2 separate regions of the Homo sapiens genome follow, and region 2 is linked to region 1. Evidence: promoter capture Hi-C in 16 types of primary human blood cells and fetal thymus (Javierre and others, 2016). All regions are on one chromosome and are shown on one strand. The core of a region is centred on a gene start or on the middle of the fragment in contact, and the rest is flanking DNA. Distances in the headings are between cores, read along the strand shown. Region 1 holds the start of BEND4 (BEN domain containing 4). Region 2 overlaps NFXL1 (nuclear transcription factor, X-box binding like 1).

What was found. Contacts are between HindIII fragments. The CHiCAGO score rates a contact against its expected background, and 5 or more counts as called.
Region 2: a fragment that was not itself captured here is called in contact with the fragment with the promoter of BEND4 in region 1 in 1 of 17 cell types (total B cells); the score reaches 5.5 in total B cells.

Annotation. Positions count from the first base shown.
Region 1 is chr4:42,150,936-42,155,385 of GRCh38, reverse strand. BEND4 (BEN domain containing 4) reads left to right here and starts at 2,731. Exons shown (of 6, transcript NM_207406.4): 1 at 2,731-2,854; 2 at 3,010-3,729. The coding sequence starts at 3,243. RefSeq lists silencers at 3,039-3,358, 3,559-3,648 and an enhancer at 3,414-4,257. The HindIII fragment of the contact is 4,164 bases long and covers 1,715-4,450 here.
Region 2 is chr4:47,903,744-47,907,766 of GRCh38, reverse strand. It overlaps NFXL1 (nuclear transcription factor, X-box binding like 1), which reads left to right. Exons shown (of 23, transcript NM_001278624.2): 4 at 2,421-2,530. Among named protein-coding and RNA genes, the nearest start is that of NFXL1, 8.8 kb to the left of the region's middle. The HindIII fragment of the contact is 603 bases long and covers 1,868-2,470 here.

The DNA of each region.
Region 1 (4,450 bases), core at 1,482-3,981:
TCCTGCTGCAATATCATCTTGGCATTAAAATGTTGAAGCTAATCAGACATTTAATTTCAAAGTGGAAGGTCATTATCTTGTCACAAAATTTTATTCCAATTACTTTTTTTTCTATTATACGAAATGAATTAAAAGTAGCACAAAACATTGGGAGATCAAACAGTCAATCAGAAGCTCATTAAATATCATTGAAATTGGTGCAATAAAAAGCATTTCCCATGGCTGAGCTATTATTTAAAAGCTATATTCTGGATGGCTCAAGGAATTGACATGCTGCCAATCAAAAAATCACCCTGTCCATAAATAGCCACTTGGCTTTTCAAAATTCACTCTCACTCTCTCTCTCTCTTTTTTTTTTTTTTGAGATAAGAGTAAATATCTAAAAAGATTTAAAGCATGGGTATAATTACTATTCTATCAGCTCCTATGAGACCCCTAAGAGAAGATATCAGCAAAGTCACTATCTGATAATTTAGGCCACAATTTAGAGCAAGATGCTCACAGAGTGCTACCAGTAATTTTATGAACACTTAAATACATTACATCTATGTACAATACTCAGTTAAATACAATCTCAGGCAGGGGTTAGTGGTCAGCTATAATTTTAAAATTGCCTTCAACTCCACACTTAGAGTAAATGCTCATTTTATTTTTAAAAGGGTGATTCTTAAGTACTTCACTTTTCTATGAACTCAGGACGCAGACATAGGTGACTGCCCACATGAAAATCTGAAAGCTGATCATTTAAAACTTTTAAATATTTTTCCTCTGGGCACCTTCCCCTCCCCCTTCCCCCCACTTTTAAAAGCTAAATGACTAATTTGATTATTTCAGTTTTATAGAAATAATCACTTTTTGATGTAAAGGACAGCATGTCCTTTTCAATAGAAAATATACAATAGAAGTATTGTTCCCAGTCTCTTAAGGTGTTTAAGTGGTGAGGAGGATATACATTTAAAACTACATAGAAGAGGAAGCCCCCAGGTACAGGAAATTACTTCTTCAGAAGAACTAAAAGATTTCTCTCCTCTTAACTCCCCACACTGCCACCACCCCAATTTCTTTTCAAAAGCCAGGACTTATTGGCAAATTATCTGGGAGTAAAGTGGGAGGAAAACATTTCAATGCAAAATTCAGAACTGCTTTATAGAAAGGAAAGTGTGGGGAGGTTTGTTATCATTTATTTCCTCCAGTATATCATTCAATTTCAGCTGTCTCACGTCTCAGAAGTAGCTCCCCCATTTCTCACTTACGTGCCTAAGAAACATCTCCCTGGCATCTCATTCTCTTTCTCTTTCACCAGCATTTCATTATTTCTTAACTGTCCCTCTCATGCTTGTCTCCTTTTCCTAGTGATCCACGTGTCCTCATTTAGCAGTTTTCAGAAGCCAGGGAGAAACATTGCAAATAATGTTAAATATGATTAATATCTTGAATTCCTTGAAATATGACATGCATGAGTTACAATGAAACCTCTTTTATTTCCCCATGAAATGCTTTTGCATAATGAGAAAGAAAATGTCCTCTATGCCCTAATCAGCCCTGACAGTTCCTGGACTCCCAAATACTTATATTTATGGCATTATTTATTTCATCTCTAATAAATGGATTGGGGGGGGGACACAGCACCATCTGAGGAAGCTGCAGGAGAGAGGGAGACAATCTAGGGGGGAATAATACAGAAGCTGAACCAGCAAGGCAGAGAGAAAAAGCTTCCAAAGGGAAGGAGACCAGGGAAAGAGAGGCCAAAAGATGTGAACCCCCAGAAGAAAATGGGTCACCTTCCTAAGAATAAAAGGAAGGCTCTGAAAAGGAAACAAACTTCAGAGTGCAGAGATGAGGGTCCTACATCAAGGAGCATCCAGAACTCTGACCTGGAGAACGAAAAAGGAAGGCTGAAAAGCAAACCTGGGGCAGGGTATGCTGGTTGGCCTAGAAGAGGGGTGATTTGGGATAGGGAGCAATGGACCCTCTGCCCCAAAAAGTGGCTGGGAGAGACCAGGACATCTGCATCCCATGGAGGATCTTCCTCCCAACGACTGAGATCTCTCATTCAAACGGCTACTGAAATTGGGCACCCTCCAGACCCTCGCCGGATGGCGCCAGTTGCAGTGAGTAAAACAATGCAAGGAGTGAGTTCTCGTGTTTCCCTGGGCTTGCAAGTACATATACATATATTAAAAATGACACTGTTGAAAGTAATCATCACCTCAAAGGGAGGTATCAGGACATTTCCCCACTCAATTGCACAGAGGCTACTGGCTATGGGAAGTGAGGAGTTGACTTCAAATAACCTGGATGCGTCAGTGCAACACAGCCGCACACTCCCGAGTGTCTGACTTTGGGCAATTCCCTTCAACCTCTCAGAGCCTCGGTTTTCTCATCTTTATAATGGGGGGGAAATCATGGTGTCATGCACGTTCTCGGGGCCCCTACGGGAAACAAATGAAAACGTGAAAAAGTTCTACGCCTTGCGAGCTTTTATGTTCCGCATGAGCTCAGAGGCCGCGATGCTCGGGGAAAGCAGGACCCCAAAGCCCCGTAAACACCGCGCGACCACCCGGGCCAAGATCTTCAAGAGGTTCTTTTCAGAAGGATCGGAGAGCAATTCCCGATTGGTAGAAGAACTTGCTGTAATACACACGTACTCTGACGACCCCGCCCCAACGACTAGCCCCTCCTCTGTGCAACCCCGAGAGTTTGGGGTCATGCAGGGGGCGCCACGAGCTCGTTTCGGAAGCCGGACCCCGCCCGCAGCCGCAGAAGCCTCGAGTCCACATCTGGGTCTCTAAAGTCTCGCCGTAGCCAGATCCCGGATCCCCACCTTCTTCACCAGTTCCCGGGCGTCCTCCAGGTCCTCGCTTTCCCCCTTCCCCCGCTCCCCGTCGGAGGCGCGGAGCCGCCAGGCAGACCCCGCGGGCGGCTGCGGCGCCAGGCCCCGCCCCGCCCCCATTATCATTAGCAGATATTACCCTAAACACTTGCTCTTTACCTCCTTTCTCCCTCCAGGCATTGGCGAGGCAGCCTGTCAATCAGGAGCTCGGGCGGCAGCCCCCCGCGCGGGGGCTCGGCGATGCCAGCCTCAGCGACAGGCGGCGGCGGCGGCGGCCACGGCACAGACACACACCCTCCCACACGCGCGCACCAGGGCAGACCCGGCGGGCAGGCGGCGGAGGCACCCTCGGAGCCCGGCGCCCGGCGGGGAGGGGACGTGCTCCGAGGGACCGGCCCCGAGGCGCCGGATGGAGGAAGAGATGCAGCCGGCAGAGGAGGGGCCCAGCGTCCCCAAAATCTACAAGCAGCGCAGCCCCTACAGCGTCCTCAAGACGTTCCCCAGCAAGAGACCGGCGCTGGCCAAGCGCTACGAGCGACCCACCCTGGTGGAGCTGCCGCACGTGCGGGCGCCCCCGCCGCCCCCGCCGCCCTTCGCGCCGCACGCCGCCGTCTCCATCAGCAGCAGCGAGCCGCCGCCGCAGCAGTTCCAGGCGCAGAGCTCCTACCCCCCCGGGCCCGGCCGGGCCGCCGCCGCCGCTTCGTCGTCGTCGCCGTCCTGCACGCCCGCCACATCCCAGGGCCACTTGAGGACTCCGGCGCAGCCGCCGCCCGCGTCCCCCGCCGCCTCCTCGTCGTCTTCGTTCGCCGCTGTCGTCAGGTATGGCCCAGGCGCGGCGGCGGCCGCCGGCACCGGCGGCACGGGTAGCGACAGCGCCAGCCTGGAGCTCAGCGCAGGTACCAACTCTCCGCACAACTTTCCTTCCCGCCACGGCCGGGGGCAGCGGGAGGGGACCCAGGAAGGAGAAGCGGGGGGCCGCCGACACTTACCCGTGCTGGGCCGTGTCGGGATGTCGGGGCGCACCTGGGGCCTCCCCGCGCACCCGGAAACTTCGAGAGGATTCTCCAGCGCCGCCGCGCCTGGGCTTCCGACGGCGCGCGCCTAACAGGTGGCTCCGCGGCTTGGATCCCGCGCCGGGAAGCACGGCTGTGGCAGTCGGCGACCAGGATCGCTCGGGCGTGGTCCGGAGTGGGGCCAGACGCCCCCCCGGGGGATAGCGGCGGCCGCTCGGGAAGAAGCTGGAGCTTCTCGGGCCGCCCCGCTGGGACGCCCTCGTACTACTTCACTTTTTCCGTCTGCTTTTTCCCTTTCTCCTTCTTCCTCCATTTGTTTCTTCTTCTCTCCACTTCTCCTTTGCCTTCTAGTGCTTTCTTCGCCACCTCTTTGATGCACTCTCACGCTGTCGCAGTCCATGCTGGCTGGCTCTCAGTTCCGTTTTTCCTTCTGTCTTTTTTTGTGCGCCTGTGTTTCTCGGGGGCGCTCTGTCTCGCTCTGTCCCTTTTCCTTCCCACCCCTTGGTTGTGAGACTCGGGGCTCCTCCGCGTCCGCCACGCCGTGGATTTCGGGCGCGGGGAACCATCCCGCCCCTCCTTCCTGCCCCGGGAGTCGCAGGCACTC
Region 2 (4,023 bases), core at 920-3,419, 5.8 Mb before region 1:
ATGTAGAAAACATTTGTCATTTGTAAGTTTTATTAATTTTTAATCTGGTTTTAATCTTAAAAGTGTTATGGTAATTTTTTTATGCTGTGTTTTGTATAAAATCCATTAGTATATGATTCCCATTCCTTTGCCTCTACCAATGTAAGAAAATCTGATCACTTGATTTAAGAACATACATTCCAGAGTAATGGGATGGTTCCCACCTTAACATTAGTGAATTGAAGACCAGGACTTTACCAAAGGAGTTCATTTTTATTTGAGCACAGCCTTTGCATTTTTGTGATTCTTCTCTCAAATTTCAAACTTGCATGGCCAACTTCCTGATGAGTATCTCTATCTTGCTGGCACGTGGACCCATCAAACTGCTGTTGAAAGAGAACTTATTTATTCTTTTGTTTTCTTAATCTTAATAGCACTACAGTTTTCTCAGTCACCCTCCCAAGCCAGACATCTGGGAGCAGAGATGGCATATGCATGTCATTTACTGCAATTCTCCCTCTGCCCATGTTAGCTCAGCAGACACAGCCCTCTTTCCTTCTGAATCTTGACATGAACATCAGCTTTTAAAACAGACACAATCTCATTGTCACCAAGTCCTCCTAAGTTTTACTTCCTAAATTTCTTAAATCTACCCTTACTCTGCCTGTGTACTGTCATTGCCTACTTCAAGCCTTTACAGCTGCTTAACATGTGGATTAAATCCATATGATAATTGTGAGGTAGATAACTGTTACTACTAGTTTTACAGATGACAAAACTGAGACACATTAGGTAACTTGCTCAAAGTCATTTTTTGCTTAATCTGCTGTAACTGTCTCTTAACTGGTACTTCCAGCTTTCAGTCTTGGCCTCCACATACTCATTTTTCTTTAGTTGCCAGAGTCATCTTTTTAAAATGCATGACTTCAAATAGCATGCTATCCGCTGTGATGTGCTGGGCAGTACATTTTATTGATGCAGCCAAACTTTAATACATGTTTCAAAGAAATCTTACATAAATTTTTAAAATATAAGGTTGGTTTTTATTTTGTAAAAGCCTGTTCTATCTTCTTCTTAAATTCTGTTTTTTGAGTTAGCTGTTAAATTAGATGAAATTTAAAATGTTTTGTATCTGTTAATGCCAGCTTTGTTGAAAAGCAAAATAGGCGCCCCATACTATTCTGCTTTTAAGGATTTTTTTAAAAACTTCAATGTTTGTTTAAAATAAAGCAACTGTCTTTAATAATTTTATAATAATTTATAGTTTTGAGAGTATGTTTGCGTTTATTTTGCTTAATGTTCTAAATCATATTTATTTTATGGTAGGGCAAGCTTTTGTAAGTGCCGTGTTTACTCAGATGATTTTAGAAAGTAAAGAATTAGCCACATGTCCTATTTATTTAATTTTTCTTTTTGGCAACTTAAATTTTGGCTTGAACCACGTTATTGCCATGGTAAGTTCTGTACTTATGGTAGTTTACGTTTTAATCTACTTTTTTTGAAGACTCAGTTAACCACTATTGAACAATCTTTATTGTTTTAAAGGCATGTAGGCTTATTTCTCTCATACTAAAGTGACTCAGATTATTGTCCTTTTGGTGTCATTTGTGCTTTAGAGGACTCATTCTGTTTTTCATTTTGCTGTTGCTTGTTATTTGTTGGACCTTCCTGCAGTAACTGCTCACTGCAGTGCAGCATAGAGGTTAAGAGGGTTCACTTTGTAGGCAAACTGAAGTTAATTCTTTTGTGCCTCAGTTTTCTCATCTGTAAAATGAAGATAATAGCTCATTTAATCCTATTGAAGTACTAATAGTACGGTGTCTAGCAAATAAGCACTCAATAATTACTGAAAGAAAATAATGTCAGGTACTGTTTTTTCTAAAAAGCTTATGCTACCTTCTTAAGCAGAAATAGTGAACATGATTTCATGAGATGTGGCTATTGTACTGTAAAAACCTCAGGGTCTTTTCATTCAACAACTTTTTATTAAGAATACACCTGCTAAATTCATACACACACACCCACCCCCACCCCCACTCACTCACATCTATGCTTATATTTATGCTCAGTGGCTCTACTAATTAGTTTAGGCTTTTCCTTTCACACTTTGCTTTTCCTTAAGACTTTACATCTTGCTGCTGTTGCTTATGGCTCTGCTTCTGCCAAATTTGTTGAGAATTCTAACAGCCAAAAAAGCAAGTATAACTGAGAGAGAGAGCTGAGGTACTGATTTTGAACAAAGTACACAAGATTTAATACACAGACTTCGTTACCTCTTGACAGCTCATTGGTTACTTTTTTAAAAAAAACTTCTTGTTTTACAGCTATATTTTGAGCAATTGATATTGCTAGACAGTTCTTACATAATATGGTGCTATTAGTGAGTTTGTGTTATTTTCAGATGTTGTTTAGGGTGAGATTTTCAATCTTTAAATTTCCAGATGGAGATACACGTGAATTAGAGCGAACAAAACAATATGTAAATGAAGCTTTTCAAGCAGGGGCTATGACATGCCTAATTTGTATTGCTTCGGTGAAGAGAAACCAAGCAGTAAGTTTTTCTCCTTATTTATATTAATGTATCTCCCCAAAATACCTTAGTTTGCCTTACAATACTTAACGATTTATTATTCTTTTGTTTACTTATGTTTAAAAATGCTTCATTTGAGAATTTTGTATATGAATTGATCTTCATTTTAAAATCTGTAATTAAAAAAAAATTACCACTAAATGAGTATCCAGTATTTTTAGCACTATTGATATAACTTAGTTGTCTTCAGTTTTAATGCAAATGTTGATTTGATAGAACATTTTTAGCATCTGTACTTTAGAGATTCCCACAAAAGTGAAATGTTAAATGTACTATATTTTATTACTTTTGGAAAAAGATACGGTCCCTATCTTCAAGAAAGTAGAACTTGGCAGTAACACTTATGGCTTAATTAGTTAGCGTATCCTGTGTTAAAGGCATTTTGGGAAGTGGTGAGGGTCAGTCGGGAGAGAGATTCAGACAAAACTCATGTCCTTGGAGGAGATATGGCGTAGTGATAAAGATATATATGTGTAAATTTAAAAGGGCATTAATGAAGCAATTAAGAAGTGATTACTGAATGTGAAAGACTCAACATTTAGACCTTAGATTAATTCACTGCTATTATAGCAGCATTGCCTAGAGAAAGCAAATCAAGTCAGATGAAATAGTTTGGTCATGTAGAGTGAATCAGAAATTTAACATGCTCTGGTTGGGTAGAAGAGTATAGCAGATACAGATGCCTTTTGTGCCTAGAGTCACATCTAGTTGGTTTACTCTGATTTCAGCTGCAGGGAATGCATAGTCTCTGCATGCAGATAGAAACCCACTTTAAACATTTGCTGTGTGTGTGCGTTTTTTCCGCCTCTCAATTTTGTTCTTGGAAATTGACTTAGCTAGTACATGGGTATAGTGCAGAAGCACTGGGGAGTTAAAGCCCCTTGCAGCAACATTGCACCACAGGGAGTTGGTAGGTGAATGCCCCAACCTCCTTTCCATTAGCGAGTGGGGCTGGGCAGTCCAAGGCGTGTTTTACATGGTTTTACAGAGGGTCCCCTGGAGGATTGAGCTTCTGTGGCCCTTAGTGGTAATCAGCTCAACCATATGCCATTCATTGGTTATTTCTTTTTCCCTGTCTAGTCCCCTTACTCCTGCATCCAAGTTCTTAGATACCGCTTTGGGGGTAACCCAAACTAAGAAGTCGGCTGTTTAATGCTGTTGTTAGCTCATGCGATATGCTACATGTCTGATTTTATCAAACAGTTGTAAAATGTTATAAGGAAAGGGGAACTGATTTTTATCAGTTTTATCAAAGTGTTTGGCAGGTTTTAAAAATTAATTTAGTATTATTTCTTAAGCTTTTAAATTATGTATATTCTTGTTTTTTGATTACCTAATTTTTAGAATTTAGCATTAGTTAGGTGTTAGACTAATAGGTTTTATATAACAAAAGGGCTGTGTAGAGATATATGTACATATTTATGTTTAAAGATTCTTTTGTAGTGTTATTTATA